Regions from separate parts of the Homo sapiens genome. Here region 1 is linked to region 2. The links are contacts of gene promoters, found by promoter capture Hi-C in blood cells and fetal thymus (Javierre and others, 2016). All regions are on one chromosome and are shown on one strand. The core of a region is centred on a gene start or on the middle of the fragment in contact, and the rest is flanking DNA. Distances in the headings are between cores, read along the strand shown.

The links. Contacts are between HindIII fragments. The CHiCAGO score rates a contact against its expected background, and 5 or more counts as called.
Region 1: a contact is called between a fragment that was not itself captured here and the fragment with the promoter of BRAF in region 2, in 1 of 17 cell types (total B cells). The highest score is 5.3, in total B cells.

What each region holds. Positions count from the first base shown.
Region 1 is chr7:139,362,531-139,367,750 of GRCh38, forward strand. All of the region lies in intron 2 of FMC1-LUC7L2 (FMC1-LUC7L2 readthrough), which reads left to right. The region is part of intron 1 of LUC7L2 (LUC7 like 2, pre-mRNA splicing factor); the gene reads left to right. Among named protein-coding and RNA genes, the nearest start is that of LUC7L2, 5.2 kb to the left of the region's middle. The HindIII fragment of the contact is 1,311 bases long and covers 1,725-3,035 here.
Region 2 is chr7:140,921,701-140,926,990 of GRCh38, forward strand. It overlaps BRAF (B-Raf proto-oncogene, serine/threonine kinase), which reads right to left and starts at 3,229. Exons shown (of 18, transcript NM_004333.6): 1 at 2,866-3,229. The coding sequence starts at 3,003. It overlaps LOC105375536 (a long non-coding RNA gene), which reads left to right and starts at 3,392. Exons shown (of 5, transcript XR_002956518.2): 1 at 3,392-4,802. RefSeq lists a silencer at 3,052-3,121. The HindIII fragment of the contact is 2,638 bases long and covers 1,131-3,768 here.

The DNA of each region.
Region 1 (5,220 bases), core at 1,130-3,629, 1.6 Mb before region 2:
TGTCTTTGGCACTAAGAGGTGGAAATGGGTATCCAGGAGGTGGGAGAGAGATGGAAAAGGTAGGTAGGAGGGTATTTAAGGCAACTCTGTCCTTTTTTTTTTTTTTTTTTAATTCCAGAGACTATAAAGCAGCGACTCTCTTTTTTGGAAGTGGGGTTCAAGGTGGCAGTGACCCCCTCCACTCTTAGTGTCCTGTCTGTGAAGGAATCTGAAGTGGCACAGAGTCCTGGGGCTTTGGGAAAACATTACCTCCTCACCCCCTCAAGGTTTCTTCCCCCTCCCCTTCCTGACAGTTTTTAATTAGTTCCTTTTAAAATTCATTGGAGATTTAAGTCTGTTAGTTAAATATACCTTAACTTGAATTACATAAAGTAGTTAATCATTTAGATTACCTAAACTTCACTGGAATCCTTAGGAGTAGGAATTTTGTTAGCAGGGAAATGGAGAGGTAATTTTGGATCACTGGGCACTTCAAGAAAGGACATTCCTGGGTGAGTGGTGGAAGTTGGGGGCTTTAGACAATCTGAGGGCAGCATGATGGTGCCGGGAGGCTGGGCAGGGGGACTGCCAGGAGGTGGGAGAGAAATGCATAAGGGAGGTGGGAGGGCCAAAGACAAACTCTGCCTTCTTTGCAATTTTGCCTAGGGCCCTGGTGGTGGCAACCGCCTGTGTGCCACTGAAAATCGTGCCGATGCCTGGCATACTGCATAAATGGAAGCAGGGTACCGCGTGAGTTGAAACATTGGTCACACTATATAAAGTTTGTATATGTGAATCAGTGTAACTCATACCCATATAACTGGGGGTCTGACTGTATTTGGATTTTTCTGATAAGGCATCATGGGCTAAGGAAAAGAGCACTGGGCTGAGACTCAGGAGACCTGGTTTCTAGCCCCAGCTGTACCTCTAATTGTAACCTTGGGTAAGTCACTTAACCTTTTTTGCCTCAAGTTAAATCTGTAATTTGTTATATGGGAAACCAAATAATTTCCTATGTTATACTCAGAAATGTTGAAAAATAAATATATTTTAAGTTTTTTTAGAAAGGAGCTATAAGTAGATAGTAATTACTAGTTTATTTTATCTTGTTTATGATTCATTACGTTTTATAAATATCTTTCTGTTTTAGTTGTTAGCAGAGGGGAGAGGGATAATTTGTTTTCCCTGAACATATTCATTCTATTTGAAAGCAGGGAGGAGTTGCACAGGAAAATCCAAGAAACAGTTTGAGAATTGTCTGTGTGACAGTTGGAAGAACCCAGTACCCTCACACAGACTGTGATTTTTGCTCAGTTGGATTAATTGCAAGGATGTTCCTTAGCTAAAGCCCCTTTGCCAACAAACACAGTTTGGTCATAAGTCTCTAGTCTTGATCCCAGGAAAGTCTGGGAAGATGCAAGCAATAAGAATTAAATAAAATTGAGGGTGTGGATTTAGATTACATCCTTTTTTTTTTTTTTTTTTTTTTTTTTTGAGACAGGGTCTCTGTTGCCCAGGCTGGAGTGCAGTGGCACGATCTCGGCTCACTGCTACAACCTCCACCTCCTGGGTTCGAGTGATTCTCCTGCCTCAGCCTCCCGAGTAGCTGGGATTACAGGTGGCTGCCACTACGTCTGGCTAATTTTTGTATTTTTAGTAGAGATGGGGTTTCTCCATGTTGGCCAGGATGGTCTCGAACTCCTGACCTCGGGTGATCCACCATGCCCAGCCTAGATTACATTTTAAGCTTAGAAATTAGGTAAGTTATAGAAGGTAGTTCTGAGGGTTCTGTATCTCTTAATTGCTTATACCTTTAAATGGGAGCAGAGACCACCTTCGAAAGATTAAAATAGGCAGGAATGGCAGCCTGCCCTCCAAAACAACAAGTAGACTAGGAATGTTAGATAGAATTTTATAGCATCATTAATTGTCCCTTATGGTTAGGGACTGTTTCGGGCAAGTTAAAACTTTCAATAATTTTAACTATTTTAAATGTTAATCTTTCTAAATTGTAGGATATACTTCCTCAGTTAACATATTAATCATAATATTTTTGCTGATCAGTTGTACAGTAGTTATAGTTTGTGGGATATAAAACTGAAAGGATACTCATCCTCATACCCAGGAAAATACTGTTAAGAAAGCCATTTACTTGTTGCTAATGTAAGGTTAGTAGTACATAACCGTGTAATCTGTAAGATAGTATGACATTTCTGCCTTTCTGCAAAATTACTGAATCAAAGTTTGAAGTAGTGCGTTCTTTAATGGATTTTATTTATAAAATCATCTTTACTGTAATCTGTGTTCCTTGACTTTTCATCAACATTGAAAACATTTTCTCTTAATTTTTTCTCATTAACATAATGAACCATATTCATTTCTTGGTCAGTTGTGAGCCATTCTTTTATTCCACTTGGATTGTTCATTTTAAGTGAAGGAGGCGGAGCCTTTAATGTATACGCAGACATTTTTTAAATAATAACAGGATATTTCTTAGTCTAGAGCTTGTAAATTCTTTAATATAAGGAGTTTTATAGGATTAAACAGTAGTTTCTCTGCGTTTCAGTTAACTATTTAACTTTATCAGAGTTTCAGGCATATCCAAAACACTGAAAGCACCTGCATAGTGAATCAATGAAAAAAGAAAAGTTTTCCTCATTTTGCATTTTGAACTCTGAATAATATTTCTATCTACACAGCAGCCCAGAAAACAATAAAAGTATCACTTCATATAACATTGCATCGTTCCTGGATTCTCTACAGTTGTTTAGTTCTCCTCAAGTAAGCATATGCTTCTGAGACATTCTTTTACTTCAGGTAAATATAAGCAAAACAAAGAAAAATCATTTTGTCTATTTCTGCATCAGTTCTATAAGGAGCAAGTAAATTCTTTTATTTTCGTTTAGGTTGGATGTTGTCATATAAGGATAGATGGTAGTGTTCAACGTGTTCAAGATGGGTAGTAGGAATTCAATGGCCATGAGGTGTCATGGATCAAGGTCAGGTTTAGTGAATCAGGTACTCTTCAGTAACAGGTGGTTCATACAAAGCATTGAAGCTTAAAGTTGCTGTGAGTTCAGCAAGCAGGAGGGTTGAGAAGACAGGCAGATGGTTTAAAACTAAAGGTCAATAAGTGGGCAAGACTAGTTAAATGAGGCAGATACTCCCCAAAGATGGAATTCCAGAAAGGTGCTTGAAAAGGACTGAATTCTTAAAGCCTACTGCTGTTAGTATGTAGAGTTCTTGAGGAAACAAGCAGTTTGGCATAACTTAATCTACTAAGAAACTATAAGAAGGTGAAGGAAGTTGGAACATCTTACTGGAAAAAGAATGAGGGAGTGAAGAGGGAATCTTGTGAATTCAAAACTTGCAGAAAAGCTATTCTGTTTCCTTTTTGTTTAGGTTCTCATGCACTAGCAGCTGCTAGAATAGATATTGGAAGGCAGGGCCAAAATAGGTCAGTTGTTCAGTTTTGCAAGATTATTGAGGATATAGAGAAATTAATTTGTGAAAACTCTGAAATCATCTGCAGCTCCATGTTTTTGTTTGAACTGAATAACTTAGGACTTTGAGAAGTCAAAGCCGTCAGAAAGTAACATGAAGTCCATTCAGCTGAATAAATGTCATATTTTGCTATTAGCATAGAAAAGAATCTTTAAAACTTCTTTCCAAAAAGCACTCAGTATTGACCCATATGTTCCAGTATAGTTGTGAACCATGTACAACTGATGTTTGACTTATTTGACTCAACATGAAAGGAATTTAACCAGCTGCCCTTGCTGAATCTTGTCTCCTGAATATGGTAAATGGTTTTTGTTTTTAATCTTAATACCTTAGATTTCTGCAGACCCCAGTTTTCTCTTTTAGAGTTAACTGATAATTATTGGATAGTATCTATAATATACCTGGCTGTTCTGTTCTGTACTGTGCTCTAGTATTAGTTTAAATGGTAGACTTTTCTCTTAAAGTAACTTTAATAGTTTAATAGTTAAAGTTACTTGAAGGTATGTTTTAGATCAGGGACTGGCACTATGGCCTCCTGCTTTTGGTAAATAAAGTTTTATTGGAACACATCCATGCCGATTCATATACATGATGTCTATGGCTGCTTTGGCTTACGACAGCAGAGCTGAATGGTTGCAACAGAGTCATATGGCCCGCAAACCGAAAACATTTACCATTTGACTCTAACAAAAGCTTGTTGATCACCATTCTGGTTTAGTTATTCTAAACCAAGTGTGGTCCTTGGAGCAGCAATTCAGCATCACCTCAGCATCACGTCGTATTGTTAGAAATATAAATTCTTGGACCCACCTACTGAGTCAGAAATTCTGGATATGGGCCCCAGCAATCCATGTTTTTAGAAACCTTCCAGGTGATTCTGATACACATTAAAAGTTTGAGAAACCCTCTTCTAGATCAGTGTTTCCCAAATGTTTGTCACACTTATTGCCTTTATTATTATTTATTTTTATTTTTTATTTTTTGGAGACAGAGTCTCTGTCTCCCAGGCGTGAAATGCAGTGGCCTGATCTTGGCTCACTGCAACCTCCGCCTCTCGAGTTCAGGCGATTACCCTAGCTTCCCGAGTGGCTGAGATGACAGGCATGCACTGTCATGCCCTGCTAATTTTTGTATTTTTAGTAGAGATGAGGTTTTGCCATGTTGGCCAGGCTGGTCTCAAACTCCTGACCTCAAGTGATCTACCTGCCTTGGCCTCCCAAAGTGCTGGTATTACAGGCGTGAACCACCATGCCTGGCCTTGCCTTTATTATTATTTACTGTTTTCTGTTTATTTAATATTTTCCTTTATGTCAACTCACTTTCTAAAAATTTTAAGTTAATTTTAAAATGAAAGTTTATACCACCATAAAAATAAATACAATGAAAACAAAATGGTGTATTATGTAACTAGACTCTTGTCACTTAGGGTTCCTGTGCTAAAAATTAGAAGTTGTTAAATTTATTAAACAAGTACTGTTGCAAAATGGGAACTTTTTTTCTTGACTTAATTGTGATTAATAATTTCCTTACTGAGTGGTATTTAAAATGTCTTGTTGGCAAAATCATGTAACACCTAAAGTCATCTTTTGTGCAAATCTCATACTTTGGAAATTACTGTTCCAGGGAGTATTCATGTGAAAGGAAAGCTGTTTGAACTATATATATACCTAAGCCTGTAAGCAGAAATGACTGGACAGAAATACAAGCCTGTGAGACAGAGAGATCTAGGAGATCCCT
Region 2 (5,290 bases), core at 1,979-4,478:
TTTTTGTACTTATAGTTTTCTAATTTTTGATAATGACTTGCTTTCCCTTTGAAATCAGACTTTTTTTTTAGATGAAATTTCCCTCTGGGAAACTTTTATTTAAAAAAAAAAAACCTACATTTTACTGTTAGGTAAAATAAATCTTCAGAATAAAATGTGTCATTACACACAAGCAAACCTTTTCATTCTTTCCATGTAATTTGCAGTAAAAGATCCCTTTAAGTGAATGTAAGGAAGACTTCAAATAAAAGACCACAGCACATTTCAGTTTCCACTGAATATCAACTTCAAATTTAAAATTATTTCTTGGAGGAATTTATTTTATCATCTGTAATACTGATATTTACATTCAAGAGATACATTTTTTAATCAATGTCACCCTCCCAGCCAAATACATTTATTATCAGTTCAGAAAAAAATGTAGAGGGAAAACTACTGTTCACCACTAAACATTAAAACCTGGGTAAAGAGGACAGTAGGAAACACTTGTTTTTTAACCAAGTAAAATGAGAGTATCCTTATAGTTTCAGAAGATATGAATATGCTTTCCAATTACTGGCAATTTATACTTAAATTCAGCTAGCCTAGAGGTTCTCAAGGATTGGTACATGGGAACTGCTCAAGACATGTGCCAAATACAGAAATCCATGGCCCTCGCTCTCACTTACTAAATCAGACTCTTCAGGGGGTACAGTTCCAAACAATCTGGCCCTTTCAAATAAAATAGAAGGGTAGAGATTTTACTTCACAAAAGCCTTCTTTACAGAATTGCAAACGGTTCTAATAACTCTGCAGCAAAGTTCCCAAGATAAACAATTTTATAATCAGAGAATTACAATTTCATAACCCCTACTTATTACTTCACTCATTGTTCCACTCTGTAGTAGTCTTCAAACAAGATACAATTCAACAAAACTACACATCTATTACAGAGTAAAATAAAATCCAGAGGCACCTGTGCCTGGTTAAGACAAAGGCATATCCGATTCCTGGAGAAAACAGACAGCAGATGTGACCCCTAGTATTTATCCATTAAAAACAATGTATCCTAAAAATAAATTTCCATGTCAAAGGAAACAAAGATGTTTATAAATAAGAAGGAACGTGGAGGTGTGGAGAAGAAAAGAGGAAGCTTCAGAAAGTTAAGTACCAAAAGCCAGGAAACAAGGCAAAATGAATGGTAACTGGAAACAAGGGAAACAGAATAAACTAGGAAATTGAAGTAGAGAAGAGCTTTCTCCTTAGAAATCAAGAAGCTGGGGGAAAGGAACAGATATGAGAGGAAACTGATCTAAGCAAAAATGCATACTGAAAAGTGGAATGATTTTAAGAAACTTAAAAATGAGAAATTTTAGAACAGATCAAATGATGGTACAGAACACATTTTGGGCATGTAACAAAGATGATATAAAGAGTAGAAAACAAACATTATCATAAACAAGCTGATGCTGAATAAAGCAAGCATATTGGATGAATTTCCAAAGATGATGATGCAAAAAAAAAATTGCAGAGAGAATGAGATGTTATGAGAATTGAGAAATTAGATGTTAATAGTAAGTAGCAAAGAGAACTTCGAGCAAAGTCAACAGAGTAAGTCACATTACCTAATCAATAACTGTAAACCACAATTATTATACCATATCTTATTTGTAAAGCATAATAAAGTATTATTTTCTGTAATAAAATACCAAATATTTGTAATAAATTTTATGTAATAAAAAAACGTAAATAATTTGACACAGTGCTAAGAGGCTGACTAATGCAAAAACAGGCTGAGAGAAGCAAGGACTGGAGAGGAAAAAGGAAAAGGAAAAAAATAGGACAAAAAGGAGGACAACACTAAGAAATCAATCAGACCTATAAAAATGGGTAGGAATAAAGAGGTGTGAATGCACAATGGACGACTAGCCAAAAAGTGCCAGTAGTGCAAGCGCGAAAAGAGCCAAGTGAAACCTGATGGAATCTTGACAGCTTCTGGGCTCAGAAAACAAGTAGCTCCAAAGTGTCCAGGAGGATTTGTGAAGATAACAACAGACAACAATGTTAGGGAGTGGTGAGATCAAGTACAGAGCCTCAAGAGGACCAGGGTAAGAGAAGTGCAAAAATGCTCTTAAGTGGGAGCTGGGGTTAGAAGGCAGGCAGGTCCGACAACTGGAAAATGAGCGGGCGGTAGATGGGAATAGAATGGGGGTTACCAATCAGCGACAGAGCGCTGACAAACATTAGGAACAGAGGACCAGAGACCAGAAAAGGCATCGGAAACTGCGATTTAGGATTGAAAAAGTAAAGACTAAATCAAAATAATTTGCTGGGTAAAACAGGTGAAGAGAAATCCCCAAATAGAAAAGTGAAAAAGGGCAGCGGACTGAGAAGGGGGGCAGTCCGGGAGAGGAGAGAGGAAATGATGAGCCCCATCATCCCCACGACCATGTAAGAATTACACGCGACAGTAACTCGGGCTGTTGTCTCAGCCCCAGCAACTAACCTATATCCTCCACGTCGAGGCCGCCGCCGCCCCCACCCCACAGAGATGCAGAGCTGGATACTTCAGCCAATCGTGACCTTCTCGGACCAACCCTGAGTTTCGCCCCCTATTGATAGCCTCCCGCTCAACCACCGCTGCCCCAATCCCCACATCTGGGGTGGGGGCCAGGGAAACCCCCCGGGCCATTGTGTGTGTTTACGTAGGAAGGCGCTGCATGACGGAGAGGGACACGGGGGCGATGCCCACCTCCCAGCCCGCGGAGCTGGCCCGAGAAGGTGGCTGAGGGCATCAAGCCCCCACCGCCGCCTCTTTCCAAAATAAACACCAGCCAGCCGCCGAGCCCGGAGTCGGGAGGGCGGCAGGGTGGCGCCAGCACTCACCTCCTCCGGAATGGCAGGGTCCGCAGCCGAAGAGGCCGCGGCGCCGGCGCCGGCGCCGGCCTCGGGCTCCATGTCCCCGTTGAACAGAGCCTGGCCCGGCTCCGCGCCGCCACCACCGCCACCGCTCAGCGCCGCCATCTTATAACCGAGAGCCGGGGCCCGAGCGGCCGCTGTCGGGCGGGGAGGGGGAAGGGAGGCGGAGAGCTGGGGGAGGCGGAGGCGGAGGCGGAGGCGGAGGAGCGGGGGGCGCGGGGGGCGCGGGGAGGAGCGGCCCGGGCGGCGCCGCGGGCGGAGGGCGCCTGGGCCACCTCAGGTACCGGCCCGCGGCCCCGGGCGCAGCCGAGCCTGAGGGGATTGGGGGAAGGACGCTAGGCGGGGGTGCGGGGGGGAGCGGGGGAAGGGGGCGGAGACGACGAGAAGTCGCCGCGGCAACGGCGTCACCCGCGTGTCACGGTCGTGACGTCACCCCGGTGCGTGACGTAATCTGAGGCGCGCCTTCGCGCCGTCGTCCGGGGAGGGTTTTTTCCCTTCTAACCACCCGCGCTCTCACACTTTGCCTCCGCTCCGCCGTTTCCATGGCTCCGGTTTCCTACTTTCCTCTTGTCTCCTCCGTCCTCAGCCTGTTCTGTAATGTGGGATTTACTAGAAGAGCAGGGCTGGTGTTCGAGGAGGAGAAGTTGAAATCCTAGAGGGAGGAAGGCGGGGAAGCCAATACTACTTGCTATTTCCACTGCAATGAACGTCTCTGTGTCATCAAAATAAGAACTTCAACCCCAAGGTTGAAACAGCCAAGCAGAATTTGATGGAAATATATTTAGGAACAGCTAAATTAGCAGTGCGACGCGTGTTTTCTTTTCATTGAAGAATTCAGCCAGTTAAAACGAGTCTAAATGGAAGTCTGAAAGCTTTTTCTTCATTGTTGAGGAATAAAATATTTCGTGTATTTTTCGTTTTCCAGATTCATTCATTTAACAAATATCAGTTGAGCACTTTCCATGCCGTAGGGCCTGTACAAGGCACATAGCATTCTAGACATCTGAAGCATCAAAACTAATCATTTTTATTTTGAAGAAAATCACTCAAAATATTTTATGTACTTTGTGCCTTTCATGAACAGAATATTCCAAGCATTCTCTGCAAAATACGCATGAAAACAATTGGGAGAGAAGAGGTCAATTATCTTTGAGAAGCCCAATTACAGAATGAAATTCAATTCATTATTAAAAATACATGGATCTAATAAAGAATAAATAATTGGAAAAGAAAAGTTTAAGGAAGAGAGAAACGGGAATGAGAAACAATTACTGTGGGCTCCCAATGGCCTGGAGTGAATCACCAAAGTAACCTAAACATGAAGTCATGAAAAACTAAGTGGATTCTGCCTTTTAGTACTTCCCATCATGGGGGAAGTCACCAGCGACCTCCTTACTGTATTTTGGATGATTCAAGAAATAGAAAGGTGTCCTACTGACTTCTGAAACAGGGTGTCTTCATATTGATTAGGGTCACCGTAAGCCTGGGAGCTGATGCTTACTCTCAGGTAAAGGATGCTGTGTGAGGCTGCTTGATGAATGAGAATACTAACATTCTTCTGCATTGAAAAAATATAACCTATAAGATGAACATTGTAGGCCGGGCGCAGTGGCTCACGCCTGTAATCCCAACACTTTGGGAGTCTGAGGCGGATGGATCACCTGAGGCCAGGAGTTTGAGACCAGCCTGGCCAACGTAGTGAAACCTCATCTCTATTAAAAGTACAAAAAATTAGCCTGGTGTGGTGGTGCACACTTGTAATCCCAGCTACTCAGGAGCCTGAGGCAGGAGAATCATTTGAACCTGGGAGGCAGAGGTTGCAGTGAGCCGAGATTGCACCACTGAACTCCAGCCTGGGCAACAGAGCCAGACTCTGTCTCCAAAAAAAAAAAAACATGAACATGGTATGCTTTGTTAACTTCATTGTACATTCTCCTCCAAGTAGGAAAGTTTCTATGAGGAAATAAATTTAAATCAAAAAGTGGCTTGGCAAATGTAGAGTAAATGATCACAAGGGATGATGTCATCAAGCTAAACTAATCTGAAGCACCCTTTACTATAAGGACATACTTAGAAGCAGACTGAAATAGCACCATTAGCCAGTCATGGCACCTTTTCCCCTTTCATCACCCTTTCATCACCCTTTCATCAGAAACACAACTGGCAAGATTTTTGTTAATTCTCTAACTGTCCTATTTCATTTTTAAAAAATTAGCTGCTAAAAATGTTATATCATTATAACACTTCCTTATAACATTAAAAGTTTTAAAGGCTTTTATCCTCACATTGGTTCCATTTTGAATTCTAGCCTTATTTGTCAGTATCAGTCTGTAGTTCAGATCTTCCATGATTATTTCTCCACAGGATGACTGGTCTCATCCATTTAATATTG